Regions from separate parts of the Homo sapiens genome. Here all the other regions are linked to region 6. The links are contacts of gene promoters, found by promoter capture Hi-C in blood cells and fetal thymus (Javierre and others, 2016). All regions are on one chromosome and are shown on one strand. The core of a region is centred on a gene start or on the middle of the fragment in contact, and the rest is flanking DNA. Distances in the headings are between cores, read along the strand shown.

The links. Contacts are between HindIII fragments. The CHiCAGO score rates a contact against its expected background, and 5 or more counts as called.
Region 1: a contact is called between a fragment that was not itself captured here and the fragment with the promoter of UTP25 in region 6, in 1 of 17 cell types (neutrophils). The highest score is 12.7, in neutrophils.
Region 2: a contact is called between a fragment that was not itself captured here and the fragment with the promoter of UTP25 in region 6, in 2 of 17 cell types (neutrophils and non-activated CD4 T cells). The highest score is 6.0, in neutrophils.
Region 3: a contact is called between a fragment that was not itself captured here and the fragment with the promoter of UTP25 in region 6, in 5 of 17 cell types (neutrophils, non-activated CD4 T cells, total CD4 T cells and 2 more). The highest score is 12.3, in neutrophils.
Region 4: a fragment that was not itself captured here is called in contact with the fragment with the promoter of UTP25 in region 6 in 1 of 17 cell types (neutrophils); the score reaches 16.0 in neutrophils.
Region 5: a fragment that was not itself captured here is called in contact with the fragment with the promoter of UTP25 in region 6 in 1 of 17 cell types (endothelial precursors); the score reaches 5.2 in endothelial precursors.
Region 7: a fragment that was not itself captured here is called in contact with the fragment with the promoter of UTP25 in region 6 in 8 of 17 cell types (non-activated CD4 T cells, neutrophils, total CD4 T cells and 5 more); the score reaches 14.9 in non-activated CD4 T cells.

The regions. Positions count from the first base shown.
Region 1 is chr1:209,636,359-209,639,795 of GRCh38, reverse strand. LAMB3 (laminin subunit beta 3) reads left to right here. Exons shown (of 23, transcript NM_000228.3): 4 at 1,148-1,262; 5 at 1,815-1,888. Among named protein-coding and RNA genes, the nearest start is that of LAMB3, 14 kb to the left of the region's middle. The HindIII fragment of the contact is 6,306 bases long and covers 1-3,437 here.
Region 2 is chr1:209,668,783-209,672,184 of GRCh38, reverse strand. The region is part of intron 1 of HSD11B1-AS1 (HSD11B1 antisense RNA 1); the gene reads left to right. Among named protein-coding and RNA genes, the nearest start is that of G0S2, 4.9 kb to the left of the region's middle. The HindIII fragment of the contact is 1,325 bases long and covers 1,117-2,441 here.
Region 3 is chr1:209,603,999-209,607,299 of GRCh38, reverse strand. CAMK1G (calcium/calmodulin dependent protein kinase IG) reads right to left here. Exons shown (of 13, transcript NM_020439.3): 5 at 1,626-1,764; 6 at 857-980. Among named protein-coding and RNA genes, the nearest start is that of MIR4260, 18 kb to the left of the region's middle. The HindIII fragment of the contact is 5,493 bases long and covers 1-3,301 here.
Region 4 is chr1:209,619,819-209,623,282 of GRCh38, reverse strand. It overlaps LAMB3 (laminin subunit beta 3), which reads left to right. Exons shown (of 23, transcript NM_000228.3): 17 at 104-301; 18 at 603-747. Among named protein-coding and RNA genes, the nearest start is that of MIR4260, 2.0 kb to the left of the region's middle. The HindIII fragment of the contact is 3,615 bases long and covers 1-3,335 here.
Region 5 is chr1:209,994,219-209,997,511 of GRCh38, reverse strand. The region is part of intron 2 of SYT14 (synaptotagmin 14); the gene reads right to left. Among named protein-coding and RNA genes, the nearest start is that of SYT14, 58 kb to the right of the region's middle. The HindIII fragment of the contact is 2,003 bases long and covers 619-2,621 here.
Region 6 is chr1:209,826,341-209,829,460 of GRCh38, reverse strand. UTP25 (UTP25 small subunit processome component) reads right to left here and starts at 1,489. Exons shown (of 12, transcript NM_014388.7): 1 at 1,291-1,489. The coding sequence starts at 1,397. RefSeq lists an enhancer at 1,400-1,449. The HindIII fragment of the contact is 3,327 bases long and covers 1-2,570 here.
Region 7 is chr1:209,583,526-209,586,711 of GRCh38, reverse strand. It overlaps CAMK1G (calcium/calmodulin dependent protein kinase IG), which reads right to left and starts at 2,998. Exons shown (of 13, transcript NM_020439.3): 1 at 2,940-2,998. LOC107985256 (a long non-coding RNA gene) reads left to right here and starts at 347. Exons shown (of 3, transcript XR_001738443.2): 1 at 347-511. The HindIII fragment of the contact is 187 bases long and covers 1,699-1,885 here.

The sequences.
Region 1 (3,437 bases), core at 64-2,563, 190 kb after region 6:
GCCCTCTGGACAGTATGGTTTAAGCTGCGCACAGGGTTTGGGATCATGGCTACTCAGAGAAAGCAGATTTTATGTATGTTATATGGGGGAGCTGGGAAAAGGTCGTGTTATCTGTGTGTGTGTGTGTGCGTGTGCGCATGTGCACGCGTGTGCGTGTGTGTGTGTGTGTGTATGTGTATATGTATGCACATAGGCACAAGCTAAAAGAACAAGGGATATATCGCCTCTCTGGCCATGCTCTTTTTCTTGGTGATCCTTGCTCTGCCATGAAACCTATGGGGTTCAGTTCTGGCTCCTGTCTCATTCCAAGAGATAAGCGTAGGCCAGGTTATTGGTGACCTCCCCAGTGAGGCCGGTTGCTCTCCTGTAGGTAGGGAATACCGAACCTGAGAAAGATCCTCACGCCCCAGATGTCACTGCTGGAAGGCCTTAGAGATCATTTGAATGTCACTAGAATTTTGGGTCCCTGAGGGCAGGGCCTTTGTTTTGTTCCCTATTGTAACTCCAGAGCCCAGAGTAGAGTCTGGCACATAGTATATGCTAAATAAGCATTTGCTGGGTAAATGAAAAGCTCTAGCTCAATCCCCACTTAATTTATGGAGGAGAAAGTTAAGCCTAGGAAGTAGAGGTGACAGAGCTAGGACTGTAACTCCACATTTCCTTGTCCTCTTTTGGAGTCCTCTCTCTCTGATCCTTAAAACCCCAGAATTTCCCAGGCTGCCAGGATTAAATGAGGTAAACTATAAAACTTTCCAGCCTGTGCCCAGTATGTCGTAGATGCTCAAATAATATGAATTTCTCCCCCCGCCCCCCTTTTTTTTTTCTCGGCACTTTTCTCAAGTTTCTCTGCAAGGCAATATCATATACTCAAGTATTTTTTCCCACCTCGTACCTCTTCTCCGTTCACACATCTATTCACCATTCACTTGCTATGTGTTAGGAGGGGCACCAAGGAATTAAAAGATGACCAATTAAAAGGTGATCAATAGCTGTGTTTTAAGAGATTAACCCTTCAAATTGTATTAATAAAATTAGTGATTCCTAAGGGCAGGATTTCCACAGAGGAGATATGCTGGGATCTCAGGACGCAAGGGGGAATTCTATCAGGACCCCACCTCTGAGTGTCTGCTATCTCCCTCTCCCACAGTGGCAGATGAAATGCTGCAAGTGTGACTCCAGGCAGCCTCACAACTACTACAGTCACCGAGTAGAGAATGTGGCTTCATCCTCCGGCCCCATGCGCTGGTGGCAGTCACAGAATGGTGAGCATTTGCCATCTACGGGAACTCAAACTGTACAGCCTCCACAGGATAAGACGGATGGAAGGTGCCCTATAACCCTTTGGGTTTCCCAGGCATTTCTTATGGTGGTGTGACATGGGTGATTGATAAGAAGAATCTTTCTGCCTCATATTTGGGGTCTGTTGGATGTTATGGTAGAAGAATTTATTGGAGGTGAAAGAAAGGGTGTGAGGAGAGAGGAATGTCTTTATTTCCCTCCACTCAGTCTCAGTGGGTGGGCTTGCAGAATTAAGTTTGGGGAACAAGTCTGTGTGGAACAGACAAGTTGAAGCCCTCCAAAGTATTGAAGACATCAGGTGATGGTGGGAAGGAAACTTAGCCAAAAACAGATAGGATCTTGAATAGATAATATAAGCAGAAACATACCACTCCCCACTCCTCTCCAAGAGGGAGTTTGGAAAATCAAGGTTAGAGAGTTTCTGAGTTCCTAGAGCTAGTCTAATCCAGGGCTTCCTTCAGGGCTGGGGAAGTGGACAGTCTCTGGATGACAGTTTCTATTTTTTGTCCTTCCAGATGTGAACCCTGTCTCTCTGCAGCTGGACCTGGACAGGAGATTCCAGCTTCAAGAAGTCATGATGGAGTTCCAGGTGTGCCTCCTGGGGGTGGCAGTGGATAGGAGAGGGGCTCCTGGGCCATGTGGGCGTGGAGCCATGGAGGAGCACAGTGTCCTTGTCTCTCTGGGTTGGGGCAACACTCACCATGAGCCTATATCATGGTGACAGAAGAGGACTCGCTCCTGGGCTAAAAGTGGCACCTCCTGGCTCCCTGTCTTGGCCGTGCAGTGGTTGCATATCCTCTTCCTCTCTCATTCTCCACCCTCAACCCATCTAATTAATTCAGCTCTGCCAAGTACCAATTCTACTGGGCCCGGTTGCTTGTTGTACAGTTGTGTATTCTTGGTATACTCTGTTTTAATAACTTTGCATATTAGATTGACTTTAACAAGCAGCCAAGAACTTGCCTATCCAACTAACTGATGGATATTCCTTTGGTGCAGCTCTCTTGGTGGGCAATCTACTCATTCAGCGCCATTACTTCTCAAAGCACTTTCAGATTCTGCCTTTAGAACATCCTTCTAGATACTTCTTTTGGAGGAAACATTTTCATTTAATTGCCATAGGTCAATTTTTTCTTTTCAGAGATGATTTGGTTTTATTCTTTCTACAGAAATAGTCAGATATTCAATGATCAAATTTGGTTAATAAGATTAAAGGATTAGGAAGGGAGATATAATTTTCAGGAGTTAAAATGAGCTTGGAATAAAAAGTAATAGGACCTAATTTCTTACATGACTGAAGAAGTTGGCTCTAAGAGCCTTGCCCCATCTAAAGGTCAAAAATATTTTGAGAAATGCCAGCATTGTTTGAATAAATGCCCAGTCTCTAAAGGTGGCAACTTTGAAGGGCAGCATATTCATTTGATAGACAGTGTTAAATAGTCTCCTCACTTTATCATCGCTCACCTGTTCATTTATTTGTCATTTATTTGTGAGCGCTTATTGAACACTGATTACTCATTAGGCTTGGTGTCAGATGTTAGGGATATAAAGATGAATAAAACCAAATCACAGTCTTCAAGCTGCTTTCACCATACGTGGGGAAGTCAGTAGTGAGAGAGTGCAATGTGTGCTCTGATATTGGTAAGAAGAGGTGCTGGGAGCCCAGAATGGGGCTCTTGCATGGTCTGTCTTGGGAGGGCTTGTCAGGGAGTGCACCCAGGGGAAGATGAACTTTCATAGACCAGTAATGGCCAGGGGAAGGGCAATGTTTATTCCAAGAAAACAGAACCATAAGCACAAAGGCCGGGAGGCAGGCGGCAAGAAGATGAGGTATATGACTGGGGTTGGGGGCAAGGGAATGCACACAGGGCCTGGAGGGTGAAATGTGCTTGGTGGCAAGAGGCAGGGATGTGGAGGGCTGAAGACTGCTGCGAGATGAGTTTCCAGGTATACACAGGGGGAGGGGAGCAGACTGAAGATTCACCATTTGTTCAACAAATATGTGCTAAACACCCATGTGCTAGGTGTTGGGGGTCCACCTGTGAACCACAGACAATAGGGGCTACAGCCTGGTTTACTGAGTCTCAACCAGGGGCACTGTTTTGCCCTCTCCTCTCCCCCAGGGGATATCTGACAAT
Region 2 (3,402 bases), core at 530-3,029, 160 kb after region 6:
ATTTCTGTGTGGATACACTGCTATTATCACAGCTTGACACACTTAAAACAAGACTCCTTACCTTCTCTATACTCTTACAAGCTAAGTCTTCTTCTCAATATCCTTATTTCTAGCAGTGACATCTCCGTTTCATTTGTTCTCTGGGCTTGAAATATCATGGAAGTTATTTGGAGAGGCCTTCCCTGACTACTGCATCCCACCACTCTCCACCCAGTGCCCTACTTTCTTTTTCTTCATAGCACTTGGTTACCTGATTCTATGTGGATGTACTTAATGGTGTGGTTTTATATTGTCTTCCATGTGCGTTGGAGGATAGGCTTCATGAGGATAGGGACTTTGGTTTGCTCCTCACTGTGTCCCCAGTGCCCAGTATAATTCTTAGCACATAATAGGTCCTTAATGGGTAACTATGGGATTAATGAATGGCTTTTCCATGGACTGTGAAGCCTGGCAGGGAAGGGACTGTTTTTTGTTTGTTTGTTTGTTTGTTTTTGAATGCAGTCCAACTTTTAGTAGATGCTTAAAGAAGCATTCAGGTTTTTGAGGGGACAGTTTTTTTGCTTTTAATCCTTTCTCCTCTAATCCATCTTAAACACTACCACCAAATGAATCTTCCTAAAATTTAATTTTTTATTGTCAACTGCCTGTTTAAAGGCCAAGATCATTTCTCATTGCCCACATAATGGACTCCTGGATCCTGCATGTTGAATTTGCTTGATTTAGTATTCTTGGAATTCAGGCTCTCTATGGTCCGATCTTCTCCTGTTCTTCTCCCACAATAGCCCTTTGCTCCACAGAGAGGTTTCTTCACAGGCCAAGAAACAATTCATTCGCATTGCTGCTGCTTCATTTATTTTTGCTCACACAGTTGTTTCTACCTGAAATGCTGTCCTCTTTCTACTTTGTCTTCCTTTCTTCCTTGAGGTCAAGTTCAATTTCCTGTGCTCCAAGAAGCTACCACTGCCCATGGCAGCACACCTTGATCTCTCCTTTCTGTGAATTTCAGTTGCCTTTGGGGCTTGTACTCTACAGGCTGGCACTGGATGGATTACCGTTTTGTACAACTCTGTCATTGTTTCCTGTGGGCTTGCCTCAGCTCTGTGGAAGACAAAAGCTTTGTATCTTTCATGGTGTTAACATAGAATAGGAGGCTAATCAATATTAGTTACATTGACCTAAAAGTCAGTGCTGAGATAGAGAGGGCAAAGTGACCAGTTAAGGCTCTCTTGGGAAGTTATTTCAAGCACAGTAGCCTGTCCTTGGCTCAGAGCCTTGGTGTTGAAATTGCCCAAGACCTGGCAACTTGGCTTAGTTTCCTCCACTCTGGTCTCCTCACCTTTCACTTCCACTCCCAACTTAGTGTCTGACATTGTAGCCATTGGCTCACTCTGGGCACCCTCCAGCCTGCCCGTGGTACAAATCAAGGCAAAGGAACAGACTTTATAGGCATTCTGCTTTTGTCCTTCATAACTTTTGGTCAAGCAGAGCCACCAGCTGCTGGGGCATGCAGACTGTGCTGGAAGCCTTGAATAGCCATGGGTGGTGTGGTTAGAATTACCTGCACCCTGCTGCCTACATACCACTTCCAGATTAAACAATATACTTTACAAGTTTGAGTCAGCACAAGGAATTTTCCCCAAGCTCAAATGCCAATTGGTCTTAAGGGTATAGGGCTCTAAAGTCAAGCAAACCTGGGTTCCTCCAAATCCTGACTCCTCCATTTGCTAAGGCCTGACCTTGGGCAAGTGACTTAACTTCTATAACTTCTACTTCCGTATCTGTGAAGTGAGAGTTATGATAGCCCCTATTAAATGGGGTGTGGTGATGATGATAAGCCCCTATGAAACAGATATGATGAAGAGTGAATGAGATAGAGCTCTGTAAGGGACTTAGGCAGTTTCTGGCACAAATGAAGCAATCATTAAATGATGGCTGTTATTATTCAATTGTCTTTGCCTCTTGCTCTACGTCGGCAATTTCCATGATGCTTTATCCCAGCCCGGGACATTTGCATTCCTTAGGTGACATTTAGGTAGCTTCTAGTAAGGTCCAAAAATATTTGTTGAAGCCAGCCATGTACCTGACACTGTGTTAAGCATAGTTATAGGAAGCAGAATGTGTGATGGCTCACACCTGTAATCCCAGCACTTTGGGAGGACAAGACGGGCGGATCAGGAGGCTGGGAGATCAAGACCATCCTGGGCAACATGATGAAACCCTGTCTCTACTAAAAATACAAAAATTAGCCGGGTGTGGTGGCACATGCCTGTAATCCCAGTTACATGGGAGGCTGAAGCAGGAGAATCACTTGAACCCAGGAGGTGGAGGTTGCAGTGAGCCGAGATCATGCCTCTGTACTCCAGCCTGGTGACAGAGCAAGACTCTGTTTCAAAAAAAAAAAAAAAATGCAGAATACAAACTGCATTTGCCCTCAAGAAGCTTATAGTGAAGTAGAGGACACAGACTGTAAACGAGTTATTATTGTATATTGGGAAAGGCACCGTAATAGAAATTTATACCAGATGAACAAAAAGCACAGAATGAGACAGGTATTGATGCCCTTTGGGGAGGAGGTAGTCAAAGAAGGCCTAAGGGTAAATGATTCCTGAGAGGCTTGGGATGTTAAAGGATGGATGGTGTTCACCAGGTGGTTCTGGGACAGGGTGTTGTTCAGGGCATGGGGAGGCCTTGAATGAGATGGGACTGCATGTGAAAAGGGAGGATGAAAGATAAAGCATCACATGGTCCAAGAGAAGTTAGACAAGTTGGTGTTAAATCATAAAGGATGGATTTTGGGAAATGGCAGAAAATGAGCAGGAAGCAGTAAGTAGGAGCCAGATAATAAGCAGTTGTATCAATAATCACTTATTCATCCCATGCCTAGGAATTGCTGACCACTCCCTTCTAGAAACACATTTCTCCTTTGCTTCCACGATACCATATTCTGCTGGTTTTCCTCTTACCCTATTCTGGACAAAACTCAGGATCTTTATCTCAATTGTCCTCTTTATCTAACCTACAAATGTCAGCATTTCTCAGGACTCAGTCCTGGAGCCCCTTTTCTTATTCCACATGCTCTCTTCAGTGATTTAATTTACTGCCAGGGCTTCCATTGCTGCTTCTACACAGATGACCTACAAGTCTGAGCTCTAGACCTGTGTATCCCTCTACCTATTCTACATTTTGACTTGGATGTCTTGCAGGTATCAGAATTACTGTGTCTAAAGCCAAATTCAATATTTCTACCCCATAAACTTGTAACCATCTTTCTTAACCTAAGCTGCACCATTCACCTAGCAGCTCAGGTTTGAAGTCAAGGAGCCATCTTTTCCTCCTTGCTCTCCATCACCTCTCCAATGTGAAAAATCACCAAGACTTGTGGCTCACGTCTGTAATCCCAGC
Region 3 (3,301 bases), core at 679-3,178, 220 kb after region 6:
GCATGAGCCATGACTTCCTCTGATTAGGAGCCCTGTGGGGTGTAGAGAGCTGCCTTCTGTATTTCTTGCAGCTACCAGAGCTTTGTACCTGGTGGGACTCAATACCTACTGAGGAGTGAATGACCTGCCTTTCTGGGAGGGTAGATTCCCTCTCTTGAGTCAGAGCTCTGCTTCCCATTACCCAACTGCAAACAGGTGACGACTGGTGAAGTGGGAAGGGACAGGAGCGGATGCTCTGAGTTTCAACTTTGTCTCCTGTAGATCCCAGGAATACTCTTCCAGGTGCCCTGCCTGCTCTCACTCTTTTTGGGGGCCCTGGAAACCTACAGGGATGTTCAAGCAGGAAGCTCCACCTTTGCCAATTTCCCAGAGTGCTTCCTTGGGTGGACATTTAGGAGCCCATTTCTGGGTTCCTCAGGCCCAAATTCAATATCCTGTGCTTCCAGGCTCCCAAGAACTGGGGGCTAATGTCTCCTTCAGAGTGGGAGAAAGGAGTAGGGTTGGTGCTCAACCCCTCAGCTCTCTGCTGATCTCTGGGTTTGTGATCTTGTCTGCCCCTGGTCCAGCTGGAAAGACAAAGGCTGGAAGTCTATCCGCAGAAATGAGAGCCAAAGCATAGGCAGGGACTCTGGAGGGCTCAGGGGTAGGCGGTCTTTAAAAATGTAGAATTTGGGAGCAGTAGAGATAGATCCTGAGACGGATGAATTGGCTGGCCCTAAACTTTATAAGTGGATGTCCTACCAGGATAGCCCCTGAAGTTGAACCCTATGTTCTCAGAATCACCCCTTTCTATGAATGATAGGCATGTGGTTGAATGTAGCCAACTGGTCAACCTTCCTCCTGCTCCCAGACTTACCCACGTAGCCTGGGGTCCCACAGGCAGTGGACATGATGCCATTCTGTTCCATCTTGGACAGACCAAAGTCAGTGATCATGATCTTAGAGTTCTCTTCAGGGGTAAGGTAAAGCAGGTTTTCGGGCTGTAGGAGAAAAAATATGTAGTGTAGGATATAACCACCTGAAGCAAGTATTTTCCTTCCCCTTGATACAAAATTTCACAGGAAGATGAGCCCTGGGCTCCTGACTTCAAGGCCAGCTCATCCTCCCCCATTCTTCCCTTCTTCCTCCTACCTGCACCCTCACACCTGCACCCCAGTAGTCTGCACCTTGCTTATGGCTCTGACTTTGCTCGGTCTTGTAAACATTAATATACTCACCCTTTCCTTCCCTCACTTCCAACTACCCTGTTTGTGTTTTGAGAGAACCAATCTTTGGTTAATGGTGTCTGATCTCTCCAGAGTCCAGTGCAAGGCCTAGTACAATGTAGGCCCTCAGTAAATATTTTGTTGCATTGGGTTTTGACTGTGGCTGGATGTAAGAAATGTGTGTATTATTTTGGTATTGAAATAGGGTAAGGCATAGTGAAAGTTTCAGGAAAAATTGAGGTGCAAATTAGTAACCATTGTTCACTCATCCAAGGTCTGTTTAAGGAATCTAAGGGCAGAAGGGGCCTTGGGAGTCACTAGTCCAACCCTCTTACTTTATGGAGCTTAGATGTCCCATGACCCATGCAGCTTCCTTAAGGGTCATTATCTGTTTCCCACCCAGGACTCCCGCCTTGACACCTTTAAGTCTCTGTGGACGATGCCATTCTCATGTAGGTATTTCACTGCCGACAAGACCTGCTGGATCACCAGACTGGCATCCTTCTCTGTGTAGACACCCCGCTCCAGGATCCGGTCAAAGAGCTCCCCACCAGAAACACTGTGGGCATAGGATCAAGACAGGAATTCAGTTCTCATTTCACTCAAAGTAATGAGAAGGTGTTTGCTTTGAAGCCTTGGGGGACACAGCTGCAGTGGAACAGGCAGGCCCCCATGAACTGTGATTGAAGGGCTGCCAGCAGACTACTCCAGTCTCAGAACACCCACTCTGGGTACCTGGAGTGATATCACTAGGCAGTCATCTCTTTGGGCCAAGCATTGACCTCTCTCTCTGAAAATTTCCTTTAAAATGTAAATGCTTCTGGTTGGGGCTGCACAAGAAGCCAATAATCCCTTAGTGTGGACACACTTCTTAGCCACCTTCCTTCCTGGCCTATGACACAGGAAGCCATGATGAAAGAGAGAGGTAACACAGAAATTAAGCAAAGTAGGAAAGAGAAGGCATGCAAGTGAGACTAACCGTACTTATATCAAGATTTCTCTTCTCATTTTGGGAAATTGGGCTTCATAAAGCTGGAATTACAGGTAGGGCTTTAGGGGTGCTTTGAGACTCAAATGGTAGAGTATCTTAGGACCCAGGGGAGCTTAAAGATCAAGTCTGACTTCTATCTCATGAATACCATCTACTCTATTTTTGCCTAGAAGTTTTCTAGTGAGTACTAGAACACATAAGTGTCAGAGAACACTCTTCCTCCTAAGACAGAGTGTTTTTTGGAATATTCCTAATGTTTCTGCACATTATGTTGAAACCTGATGCCCTGTCATTTCTACCAGTGCTACCAATTCCACCCATCGGGACTGCACAGAACAAGAATAACAGCCTTTCCTGTGCACCTTTCAAGTATACAAAGATAGTGAAATGCTCTCCGGAGGGCTTGCCTTCTCTGAGATAAGCATTCCCAGACTATTTCAACCGTGAGCCAGGGGTTCCAGTCCTCTCACCCTCCTAGTCCCCCTTACCACTGTCCCATGACATTAGATGTGGCCATCCATGCCCAACTAGTGATGAGGGAAAAGAATTTCTCCGATCAAAATTTACCTCATCCTGCTCTTTGGCTTTTGGTCTTTAGGCTTTGGGCGCTCCTATAGTAGCTGAAGGCCTGTAGGAAATACACTCTTTGTACAGAGCTATGAATTCTTAACCCTGAGGGGCCTGAGTCCTGGAGCTATGCTCTGAGGAGGCTTAGTGTCTCCTCAGGGACATCCAACTCTTCCCATCTCCTTGCCTCCCTGCCTTCTGAATTACTGTGTGCTAATCCTGTTGGCTTGGCCTCATTGTAGTGCCTGATGGTCCCTGATCACTTGTTAGTGCCACTAGGGGCCCTTTCCACCTCACTCCCTTGACTGCCTGCTACCTCTCTTTAGAGGTCCTCAGATAAGCCCCCAGTTAATCAGGTGCTTAGGCCTGAGTTATCTCGTTAAAGTTTCTTAGTAATCAGCCCATCAGCCAAAAACCACGTTGTGTCCAGCCACGCTGAGATTGCAGAGTGGTGTGTGAGTGCGTGTATGTCTGTGCATGTGCAAGTGTGTGTATTTGTGTGTGTGTGTGTACTTTATAAACAGAAGTGTCTTTGAGC
Region 4 (3,464 bases), core at 279-2,778, 210 kb after region 6:
TGGTTGTCATGGAGATGTCTGGCTGTTGGTTTCCCAGGTGTGGGGTGGGATTGGTTATTGAGGGGCTTTGGGTAGCCTCTTTAACACCGCCATCTGTCCACAGCTCTGTGGCAACTCCAGGCAGATGGCTTGCACCCCAATATCATGCCCTGGTGAGCTATGTCCCCAAGACAATGGCACAGCCTGTGGCTCCCGCTGCAGGGGTGTCCTTCCCAGGGCCGGTGGGGCCTTCTTGATGGCGGGGCAGGTGGCTGAGCAGCTGCGGGGCTTCAATGCCCAGCTCCAGCGGACCAGGCAGATGGTAAGTGCAGCCGAGGCGGGGTGGGCACAGGTAGGAGGAGGCAGACAGGATAGATCCCCCGGGCAAGTCAGAGTTCCCATTTTACACTAAAGTCCAGAGATTTTAGGTGACCTGCTTAAGGTGCCACAGCAAGTGCAAGATAGTTTTTTTTCTCTTTTACTGAACATCCACATGTAAGCTGGGTTGGTTACAAATGCTTCCTAGGTAGGTCTTGGCATAGAGGATGATCCGCAGAATCGTGGGGCTGCTGAGAGGTTCCCTTGGGGCCTTACCCCTTCTGACCTAGAGTGTATGTCAACAGATTAGGGCAGCCGAGGAATCTGCCTCACAGATTCAATCCAGTGCCCAGCGCTTGGAGACCCAGGTGAGCGCCAGCCGCTCCCAGATGGAGGAAGATGTCAGACGCACACGGCTCCTAATCCAGCAGGTCCGGGACTTCCTAACAGGTGAGCCCAGTCTCCACCCCACCTTGGCTGCTGTTCCAGTCCTGCCTGTCCCGCATTCCCATGTTCAGTGCATCAGCCAGCCCTCCCTCCCTAGTCCCAGGCCTGCAACATCCAGGCCTCCACTTCTCCTTGGCACCATGGCCATGACCTTCTCGTTCTCCCGTCTGCCCTCCCCACCCACTCCAATCCCTTGTGACCCATTCTCATTCTCAACACAACAGCTGAAATATCTCTTTTAAAATGCATAAGTCAGATCACATCTCACTCCTGCTTAAAATCCTTCAGTGGCTTCACCTTGTTCTTGGAATGAGCTCTCAACTCCCATCGTGGCTACAGAGCCTGGCCTCTGTCCATCTCTTGGGAGTGACCTTGGGCTCTTCTCTGCTTTGTTCACTGGCTGTCCTTGAACATGTCAGGCTCTTGCCTGCTTCAGGGATGTTTATTTGCTCTTTGTCTGCCTGAAGTCCTCTTTCCAGGGCTGCTGCTTCTTGTCCTCTGGGTCATCTCCCCAGAGAGGTGTTTCCTGACCATCCGATCTGTTTGTCCCCCATCATCTTACTTTCCTTGCACTACTCACCCTCATTCAGTTGTCAACAAGTGGATTGTCACTCCACTAGAATGGGGACTCCAGGAGGGCAAGGATGGTTGTCTGTCTTGTTGACTACTGTGTCACCAGCACCTAACATAAGGCCAGACACAGAAAGACATCTGACATTGGTGGCATGAATAAATGAACCAGACACCCTTCCTCACTGCTCTGGGGAGTGAGGAAGGGCTGTACAATGGAAAGATCCCTAAACAGGACCCGGGAGACTCGTGTGACATTGGGCAGGCTGCTTTTCTCTTTGCCTCATCTTTTGCTTCTATAAATGGGGACGGTAGTATTTCACAAGTTTATTCTGAGGATCAAATAACTGATGTAAAATGTGTTTTGAAAAAGGAAAAGTGCCTCAGGAACAAGAGTTGATATTGTTAGATTTCTGGTTCCTGCCAGGTTATTTGCTTGGCTGGGAGCCCAGTTAATACGAGCCCAGGGCTTGGTGTAATGACAGTGGCTCCTCTTGCTACTATTACAGTGTTTTTGCCCCAGATAGGCCGAAGTCCCCTCCTGAGTGCAGGTGGCAGGTCAGAGAGGGGCAGGAAAGTTCTTCTGAGGTCTCATGACTTGCATAAGGCCTTGAGGCACTCACCTGGGGAAAATATTACCTGGGGATGTAGGGAGATTGTGCCCCACAAACGTGGATGATGGGGGAGGTCAAGGTGTGGGGCTTAGGCTCATGGATAAGGGATTCTTGCCCCTGAGTCAAGTCCAGTGAGGCTGAATGGCCACTCATCCTGCATTAATCTCAGCCAGGGCTCTGGCCTCAGTGGGTGGGAGGTGAGTTGGAATTCTCTCCTGCCGGGTGCAGCTGAGGCTCATGTGAACAGACAGGGAGCTGCCAGGCCCCTTTTGTCCTCTCTCTTATACTTGTATCTCAGGTCAAGTCTTATGATGAGTCCAGGGTCAGAGAGAAAAAGCAGGGCCTGAGAGAGGCCTGGCCCCAGGGGGAAACCCAGGAAAATTTTCTGTAGCGGTGGGCTTGGACTCTGGTCTCCAGAGTCCTGGTGCAGAAGCCACTGAGCGCTGGCTGCTGTCCGATATAGGGTCACAGTGTGGGAGGGAGAGTGGAAAGTCTGTGGAGGGAGGAGGAAACATCGCCTTTCCCAGTTCTTCAAATGGAATTGACAAAATGAATAGTTAAGGCTTATTAAGTTCTAACTGAGTCCAGGCACTGTTCCAAGTGCTTTGCATGTATTACATCATTTATTCCTGACTACATGAACTAAGTACTCTTATTACTTCCACTTTGCACACAAGTAATCTAGGCACAGAGAGGTTAAGCAACTTGCCTAAAGGCATCTAGCTTGGCAGTGGTGCAGGTAGGCTTCAAGCCTAATTGTCTGACTCTGTCATTCACACCCTATTGCTTTACGGCATAGACACACAAATACATACACACATGCGAGTGTGCATACACAAACACACTTTCTCTTGCCTCTTGCCTTTGCGAATGTTTTTCCTCTCTCTGGATCGTCTCCCCTCTCCCACCTCTGCTGACCTGTCTAGCTCCTGCTCATCCTCTAGGAATCTAGGCATCCCACTCTCCAGGCAGCCTCCCTGGACCTATCAGATGGCGCTGGGGGCCCCTTCCATGGCCATCATAGCACCTGTGTTTACTCCGCTCACTCAAAGCTGTACTTCCTTGTTCATGTGCCTGTCTCCCATTAGATTTCCAGCTCCATAAAGGCAGGGACTGAGTTTAATTTGATTTGCAGTCTCAACTCCTCCCATGCTTTTGCTCAAAGCAGTAAATATTTACTGAGCCCATCCTGAGACCCAGAAGGCTCTGCGACTGAATGTCATACCGATTGACCCTGAGGATGCAGCTGAAGTGGTGCAGAGTAAAGGAAGGGCAAGATCTAGGTGGGGATGTGCTCATCCTGGAAGGCTTTCTTGAGAAGGTGCACATGAAGCCTTGTTTTGAGAGTGGGACTCTGGGTTAGAAGAGAGGTTGACGAGCTCTATTAGGAAGGTCCTTATGAAAGCTTGCTGCTGGGATAAACCCACTTAATGAAACTCAACCACAGTTATGCTGCATGCAAGCCCCGAGGGACACAGCAATGAACAAGCATGGCTTCCACCCTCCAGGAGTGTCCTTCCACCTGGCATGGGATGG
Region 5 (3,293 bases), core at 371-2,870, 170 kb before region 6:
CTTCCAATTCATGAGAATAGAGTGTTTTCTATTTGTATCATCTCCAATTTCTTTCAGTAGTGTTTTTTAATATTCCTTATAGAGATCTTTCACCTCCTTGGTTAGATGTATTCCCAGGTATTTCATTTTTTGTGTGGCTATTATGAATGAGATTGTGTTCTTCATTTGATTCTCAGTCTAGGCATTATTGGTGTATAGAAATGCTACTGATTTTTGTACACTGATTTCATATCCTGAAACCTTGCTAAAATTGTTCATCAGTTCTTGCAGCCTTTTGGTGGAGTCTTTAGGATTTTCTACGTGTAGAATCATATCGTCAGCAAAAAGAAGCCATTTGACTTTTTTTTTTCTTTTTTTCCCTATCTGGATGCCTTTTATTTTTCCCTTGCCTGATTGCTCTGGCTAGGACTTTCAGTTCTGTGTTGAAGAAGAGTGTTAAGAGTAGACATTCTTGTCTTGTTCCAGTTCTCAAGGAGAAAGGTTCTAGCTTTTGCCCACTCAGTATGATGTTGGCTATGAGTCTGGCATAGATGACTCATTATTTTGAGGTATGTTCCTTTGATGCCTAGTTTGGTGAGGGTTTTTGTCATGAAGGGATACTGGATTTTATCTAAAGCTTTTTCTGTGTCGATTGAGATGATCATGTGGATTTTGCTTTTGATTCTGTTCATGCAGTGAATCACATTTTTTGATTTATGTATGTTGGAACAACCTTGCATCCCAGGAAAGAAGGCTACTTAATCATCGTAAATTAACTTTTTGATATGCTGCTGAATTAGATTTGCTAGTATTTTGCCGAGGATTTTCGTGTCTATGTTCATCAATATGTTCAGGATACTGGCCTGAAGTTTTCTTTTTTTGTTGTGTCTTTGCCAGGTTTTGGTATTAGGGTGATGCTGGCTTTGTAGAATGAGTTAGGGAGGAGTCCCTCCTCCTTGATTTCCTGGAATAGTTTCAGTAGGATTGGCACCAGTTTTTCTCTGTGTGTCTGTTAGAATTTGGCTGTGAATCCACCTGGTCCAGGTCTTTTTTGTTTTGGTTAGTAGAGTTTTTATTATTGATTCAAATTCAGATCTTTATATTGATCTGTTCAGGATTTCAATCTCTTTCTTATTCAATCTTGGAAGACTGCATGTTTCCAGGATTTTATACACTTCCTCTAGATTTTCTAATTTGTGTGCATTAGAGTTGTTCACATCATTCTCCGAGGATCTTTTGTATTACTGTGGGATCAGTTATACTGCCATCTTTGTCATTTCCAACTGTATTTGTTAATCTAGCTAGCAGTCTATGAGTCTTGTTTAATTTTTCAAGGAACCAACTCTTGATTTCATTGATCTTTTGTATGGATTATTGTAGCTCAATTTCATTAAATTCTTCTCTAATTTTAGTTCTTTCTTTTCTTCGGCTAGCTTTGGGTTGGTATTTTTTCTTCTTTTCTAGTTCCTTTAGGTGCAAGGGTAGATTGCTCATTTGAGATCTTTCTAAATTTTTGATGAAGGCATTTAGGGCTATAAACTGTTCTCTTAAAACTACTTTAGCTGCATCCCAGAGATTCTAGTAAGATGTGTCTCCATTTTCATTAATTTCAAATAATTTATTTCTGCCTTAATTTCAACGTTCCCACAGGAGTTTCAAGAGTAAGTTGTTTAATTTCCATGTACTTGTGCAGTTTTGAGAGATCTTCCTTATACTGATTTCTATTTTTACTGTATTGTGGTCTGAGAATATGGCTGGTATGATTTGAGTTTTTTTGAATTTACTGAGATTTGTTTTATGACTGAGCAGGTGCTGGCTCTTAGAATATGTTCAGTATGCATATGAGAAGAATGTATACTCTGTAGTTGTTGGGTGGAGTGTTCTGTAGATGTCTATGAGGTCCAATTGGTCAAATGCTGAGTTTAAGTCCGGAGTTTCATTGTTAGTTTTCTGCCTTGATGATCTAACACTGTCAGTGGGGTGTTGAAGTCTCACCCTATTATTACGTGGTTGTCTATATGTCTTTTCGTAGGACAAGAAGAACTGGTTTTATGAATCTGGGTGCTCCAATGTTTGGTGTCTATGTATTTAGGATAATTAAGTCTTCTTGTTGGATTGTACTTTTCATCATTATGTAATGTCCTTCATTGTTCTTAATTTTTATTGGCTTAACATATGTTTTATCTGATATAAGAATAGTGACTTCTGCTCTTTTTTTGGTTTCTGTTTGCATATCTTTCTCCATCCCTTTCCTTTGCGCCTACAGGTGTCACAAGAGGTGAGATGGTTCTGTTGAAGACAACAGATGGTTGAGCTTTCTCTTTTTATCCACCTTGCCACTCTGTGTCTTTTAAGTGGGGTTTTAGTGTATTTACATTCAAGGTTAGTATTGATATGTATGATTTTCATCTTGTCATCATCTTGTTAGCTGGTTGTTAGGTAGAACTGATTGCATAGTTGCTTTATAGTACCTGTGAGCTACGTACTTAAGTGTGTTTTTGTGGTATCAGATATTGTTCTTACGATTCCATGTTTAGCACTCCCTTAAAGACTTCTTATATGGCTGGTCTAGTTGAAACAAATTTCCTCAGCATTTGCTTAAAATCTGATGAAGATTTTATTTCTCTTTCACTTATGAAGCTTAGTTTGGTAAGAGATGAAATTCTTAGCTGGAATTCCTTTTCTCTATGGATGTTGAAAATAGGCCCCCAATTTCTTCTGGCTAGTGAGGTTTCTACTGAGAGGTCTGCTGCTAACCTAATGAGGTTCCCTCTGTATGTGACTTGACCCTTCTTTCTAGCTGCCTTTAAGATTTTTTCTTTAATGTTGACCTTGGTGAATCTGATGGCTATGTGCTTTGGTGACGGTTCCTGTCTATAGTATCTAGCTGGTGTTCTCTGTATTTATTGGATTAACATGTCAACCTCTAGCAAGATTAGGGAAATTTTCATGGATTATATCCTCAAGTATATTTTCCAAGTTATTTTTCTCTCTCCTTCTCTCTCAGGAATGCCAATGAGTCTTAGATTTAATCACTTTACATAATCCCATATTTCTCAGAGGTTTTTTTCAGTTTTAAAAAATTCTTTTTTCTTCGTTTTTGTCTGAGTTGCCTTGAAGAAACAATCTTCAAAGTCTAAGATTCTTTCCTCAGTTTGTTCTATTCTGCTGTTAATACTTCTGATTGTATTATAAAATTTTTGTAGTGAGTTCTTCAGGTCTAGAAGTTCAGTTGGTTCTTTCTTAAAATGGTTATTTCCTCTTTCAGCTCCTTGATCATCTTACTGGATTCCTTAGATTGTGTTTCAACTATC
Region 6 (3,120 bases), core at 240-2,739:
CTAACTGATGACAAAGCAGCCCAAAGTAGTGGGATGAGCATTGAGATCATAACTGCACCTAGACATTTCTAGAGAAACCACAACTACTAATACACTTAGTTCCTTATCGTAATTGCAAAGATCAATGATGTCCCAACAAATTCTTTAAAAACACACACAACATATGATGTGACTATAACTAACAATTTATTGTATATTTTCAAATGGCTAGAAGAGCGGATTTTCAATGTTCCCAACGCAAAGAATTGATGTTTGAGATGATGAATATGCTAATTACCCGGATTTGATCATTACACATTGGGTACATGTATTGTTATCAAAATATCACACTGTATCCCACAAATATGTACAATCATTTTATGTAAGTTAAAAATAATTATAAAAACAGGCCAAGCGCGGTGGTTCACGCCTGTAATTCCAGCACTTTGGGAGGCCAAGGCGGGCAGATCACCCGAGGTCAGTAGTTCGAGACCACCCTAGCTAACATGGTGAAACCCCGTCTCAACTAAAAATACAAAAAATTGATCGGGTGTGATGGCGGGCGCCTGTAATCCCAGCTACACGGGAAGCTGAGGCAGGAGAATCGCTTAAGCCCGGGAGACGGAGGTTGCAGTGAGCTGAGATCGCGCCACTGCACTCCAGCCTGGGCGACAAAGCGAGACTCTGTCTTAAAAAAAAAAAATTATATATATACATATATATATGTGTGTCTACAAAAAATTCCTAGATCTCTGACCACACAAAAATCCGCCCCCATAGCTGGGCGCGGTGGCTCACGCCTGTAATCCCAGCACTTTGGGAGGCCGAGGTGGGTGGATCACCTGAGGTCAGGAGTTCAAGACCAGCCTGGCCAACATGGTGAAACCCCATCTCTACTAAAAATACAAAAAATCAGCCGGGCTTGGTGGCGGGCGCCTGTAATCCCAGCTACACGGGAGGCTGAGGCAGGAGCATCGCTTGAACCCGGGAGGAGACAGAGGTTGCAGTGAGCCAAGATCGCGCCATTGCACTCCAGCCTGGGCGACAGAGCGAAACACCGTCTTAAAAAAAAAAAAAAAATCCTCCCCCACACAACGGGCGTGCCTCTTAGCAGGAAATTACAGGCTCAACAAAAAGGCCCGTGAAGCACTCCATCTCCCGGCGGGATGGCGCCAGAATCTCCCCGGCCGAGCACAGCGGGAGCCAGGGAATAGTGGGAAAAGGCCGGAGCAGCACTATCTGGGAGACCAGAGGACCAAACTCGAGGATACATCTCTGGCGACTGGGGAGCCCTGCCACGCCCCTTCAGACCTGTCATAGAAGGGATGCTCCTCGCCGAAATCTCGAAGATGTTTCTTCTGCTTTTTAGTTAGGGTGTTGAGTAGCTGGCTCTGGCTCCGGCTCCCGCGTTTGCCCATAGCGAAAACGTCAAGTTTGCCCACTTGCAAGAGTCGCGGTTTTCCACCAGGAAGTTGTCCAGTCAACACAAGCACGTGGGCTCGCTGACTGCGCTTTACGGCGAAAGCAAGGTGCCATAAAGCAGATCCGCTTTACGTCGCGCTCGTACGACAGGCTTAGAACATCCGGTTCCCGGTTCTGCCCCCTACCGCAGCTCTTTGAAAGCACGGGAGTTCGTTCACTAGTGTTCTCAGAGCCCTAGAACGTGGGCAGCTGGGCTTCCCGGGTTGCGTGAGTCGGGGGCATGAGCTTTGTGCTTGTGTTTTGGTTATGGAAATCAGTCTGCGTAAATGTGTAGTAGCGGAGATAGTCGAATGCAGTGACTTTACAGTATACTGCAATAAAAATATCAACCAACATTTAAGGGTGCCTGAACATCTCACTTCATCACCACAACAGTGTACAGATAGGTCTTGTTAATAAGCCTGGTGTTGCAGATAAGGAAACTGATGCTTAGAAAAGATAACACGCTAGCGGCCGGGCGCGGTGGCTCACGCCTGTAATCTCAACACTTTGGGAGGCCGAGATGGGCGGATCACCTGAGGTCAGGAGTTCGAGACCAGCATGGCCAAACATGGTGAAACCCCGTCTCTACTAAAAGTACAAAAATCAGCCGGGCGTGGTAGCGGGCGCCTGTAATCCCAGCTACTCAGGAGGTGAGGCAGGAGAATCGCTGGAACCCGGGAGGTGGAGGTTGCAATGAGCCGAGATCACTCCACTGCACTCCAGCCTACTCCAGCCTGGGCGACAAAAGCTAGACTCCATCTCGAAAAAAAAAAAAAAGAAGAAAAGAAAAGAAAAGATAACACGCTAGCAAGAGAAGAGAGAAAAACCTTAACTGATGCAACCACATGCTTTTACCCATTAGGGTCTGCCGCCTGTGTGTGTTATATCAATCATGGGGCCCACAAGTCTGAGATTCCCACCCTCACCCTATTCTCGCATTTTCTGAAAGTATTGGAAGAGTCCCCGCAAACAAATCTGTTCCAGCATTCCCCATTTAACAACAGCAGAAACACATCTAGAGAGGTAAAGTGACTTTACTGAAATCACCCCAGTCAATGCTAGAAAAGGCTGTGAAACCCAATCCAGTGTCTCATAACTGAACTCGGACAAAAGGGGATGGAAAAGCTTTTGAAGGTAAAGGAACCATCTTACATTTTGATCATGCTAGTAGTTACACCTTGTATACATAAGAAAAGTTAAACTGTACAGTTAAAATGGGTGAATTTTAATGTATTTAAATAACACCTAAATAAACAGGAAAAAGCAAAAATATAAAAGTAGACTCAGTATTCTAGGGATTTGCAAGTGTGCAGGGCTGCTTGAGACCACAGGATAAAGATGGTGAGATCCTTTTCCTAATAGTAACTTATGCTACCATGTTCTATAGAAACAGAGTGCTTAAATCATAAGCCGCAGAATTCACTTGAATATTTACGGTAAAACAGGAGCGTCCAAAATGAGAGAAATGAGAAGCAAAATAATAGCTCTGCTATTGGAGTGCTACTGTGGGAAATTTGGGTTTTCCCTGATACTGTGTCACACCATAGAAGTTGTAATAAAACCATTAGAATGCGATTCTTGTCAGTTCTAGTGACCATCTACTATTCCTAATTAGATTCGGAGAGGCTGGGGTGGGGATGGGAGGACAGGGCCGGAGAATATGAGGAACACATGCAA
Region 7 (3,186 bases), core at 543-3,042, 240 kb after region 6:
TTTCTCAGCATTCCTTTGGAGGGCTAATGCTTCAATGGGCACAAAAGCAGTTTGCAACCTCTAAAGTGCCATGCAGTGGGTCCACATTATAGGCACATGAATTAAACACTAAGCACTGGAGAAAGAGAAAGGGAAACCAATAAGGACTTAAACAGGGTGAGCACAGGACAGGAGACAGGAATCTGCTATTTCTTCAGCTGGTTCCAGCTCCCACGTGCCTTTCACAGTGTGAGCATCTCATCTCACTGTGTTTCTAAAGTGTTTAAAGATATATGATTTTTCGTACATCATAGCCTGAATGCAAGCCAACTACTTCATCTGGTACTCAACCAAGAAAACAGGGAACTGTTGCAACAAGAGAGGAAATAATACTTCTGTTGGTTTTTTTCACAGGTGATATGCAGGTCTCCACTGGGGCACTTTTCTAAGGAGTTTTCAAGGTTAACGCTGACTGTGTGTCACACACCGCCTTCAAGCCCAATCCCATGCAAGAGGTGCCTCTTTTGTACAGGTTGGACGCTCATTACTATTAACCTTCCCAGCTAGGCACTCTACTCTGGCTTCCAGAAGGGGAGAGGAAGGATCTTTCCCCTACCAGGGATAGAGTACAAAAGGAAGGACAGGCTGAACTCAGGACGAAGGGCTGTGTCAGGAAGCTCTGAGTTACCAGCCTTTCCTCCAAGGACATGGGTTTGACAATCCTGGATAGTCCGTGCAGTCCCCTGCCTGCTTCAGTTTGCTTTCTTGCTGGCAGCCGCTCCCACTCAGCCCCAACCCCCTCGCCATTGACCGTGGCGGCGCGCCTGCAGTTGTAGCGCCAGGCACGCAGCCTGTTTGCAGACTCAGCCGCTCCCCTCATTCATGCTGCAGCTCATTCACTCGCTGGCGCTGGCAGGCTGCGGCTGGGCGCCGCCACTCGCGCGCACTCGTGTGGCAATTTATTTCTGGCCCTGTGTGCGTGTGTATGGGGGAGAGGGAGCGAGGGAGGCGCTCTCCTCTTAGAGGGGGATGCTTTTTCACTTCCAGGTAGAATCGCTCCCAGGCTTTATAGTATTCGCTGCCCTGGACCACGCACCTGGGTGGGGCACCGCGCTAGGCACTTTGCATGCATTATCTTGTTTAATGCCCCACGGCCACCTTTCCAGGTAACCTCATTTTACAGCTGAGGTACTGATAAGTAGAAATGTTCAGAAAAATCCCCCACATCAAACAGATAGTGAATGATACAACTGAATTGGATTCCAACGCTAGTCTTCTCGTCACTGTACCACATAACCTGTTGCCTCTTTCCTGGTGGCAGTTGCTGGGATGTCACTCATCTCCACCTTCATCCTTATGATGCTGTAATGCAATCCTAACGTCTGACTGATTACCCTGGGAACACATGGCTCGGACAATCTTGAAAGGGCTGAATCCCTAAAGCACTCAGATTTCTCAGCATGGAGGCTGGGGACAGCATGTCTATTGCCCCAAGCCTCTCATGGTTCCAGCTCAAACCATTTCTCACTCTAACCTCAAGCTTCTTTCCCAAAGAGTACTTTCTGAAGAGTGCTCTTAATAAGCATCCACACACACACACACACCAGAGCAATCTGCAGCATCGTGGAAAGTTCACTGAATTTATCAATAGATCTGGGTTCAGTTGCCACCACCATCACCAGCTTTGCAACCCCAGGCAAACCCTTTAACTTCTAAGCTTCAATGGTCTCATCTATACTAAAGGGGAAATAATACATGCCACACCATCTGATGGGATCGTCCTAAAGATGATTAATTATAAACACATTATAAACTGTAAAGTGTGGTCCCCATATCAGGTATTACTAAGCACTCTGTGTTACGGCCTGTTTCAGAGGTGGGTCTCATCTTTGGTTCTGGTTAAGCTTGGGTCAGCAGGAATGACAGGGACCTTGTTCTGTCTTCAGCTTATGATCTGGAAAAGATCATCTTCTTACCTAAGGCGGAATCTGCTTGACTCTCTTGACCCTTCTCAGAGGCTTTCCTCATGATCAATTTATCTGACTCCAGAGCAAGAGGCTGGCCAGACAAGCACTGCAGCCAGACCAGCGTGAGCCCTGGCAGCCATCTCCGGGAGCCTCAGGGTTAATGTTTGTGCGTCAAAGTTACGTGGAGAGAAGGGGCCATGGTGTGGATGGGGGTGGTGGTGGTGGTGAATCCAGACCTCCTTTTAAGATCTTCACTTGAGAGGTAAACTAGGGAAGTTTAAAAACAGAAGGGAGGTAGACGCGCCCCTGGGGAAGGTGAAGGAAGCTGTCTTGTGACTGACAGCGATAGCTCGGCTGCGTTCTGCATCTTAACGCGGCTGAGGATAGGGAGCCTGAAGCCTGTCCACAGACTCCTCCAGGAGGGACTGAGGCTGACTCGTCTTCCTTAGGCTTGCAGAGCCACAGGCTGTTTACAAATCTTTTTGCCATTGGTTCTGCTAATCCTCCCAATAACCCAAAGAGGTCGGCAGAGAGGGCATACTTTATTTGATGGATGGGGTCAGAGAGGTTAAGAGATGAAGGTTGAGCAGGAGGGAGGGGTGCAAGAGAGTTGGAGGTCCTAACACCCCAGCAGATGGACGGGGTCCCTCTAGGCACAGAGCCTTGTCCCTAGAATGCAGGCATTGCAGGAGGGGCACATGAAGATATTTTTCTCCCTTTTCCCTGCCCAGAAGGGCAAAATGCTTCCATGAAAGCCAGCCCAGGAGTGACGGACAGATAGCTCCACCCGGACCCCCCATTCAGACTTATTTTCCAAGACAGCTATAACTCACCCTTGATGCCAAAAGAGTCAGGGAAGACTGGAACTGGGGCTGAAATAAATGCCCAAGTTGCTTACAAAGTGGCTCTTCAAATCCACTCACTAGGTGCTGCACGCTTCCCATTAAGCAAGGAGACCCTCTAAAGCCAAGAAAAGAAGCAGGGTTGTCTTACCCAGGGACTCGGGAAGAATCCTGCTTGAGCTCCCACTCCAGCTCCTACAGGTCTGTGAGGATTAGCTGCTCCAGTGCTTTAACAATAAACCCAATTAAAGGGGAGGAATGCAGGAGTTTTCTTTCCCAGGACCGTAACCACGCAGCCTTAAAGGGGAGTAAAAGTAGCTAGGGTGGCTTGCATCTCTCTTTCCTTTCCTCGGCTCTGCTCACCCTCCCTCCCAGCGTGCAGTAATGAGTCTTATCCA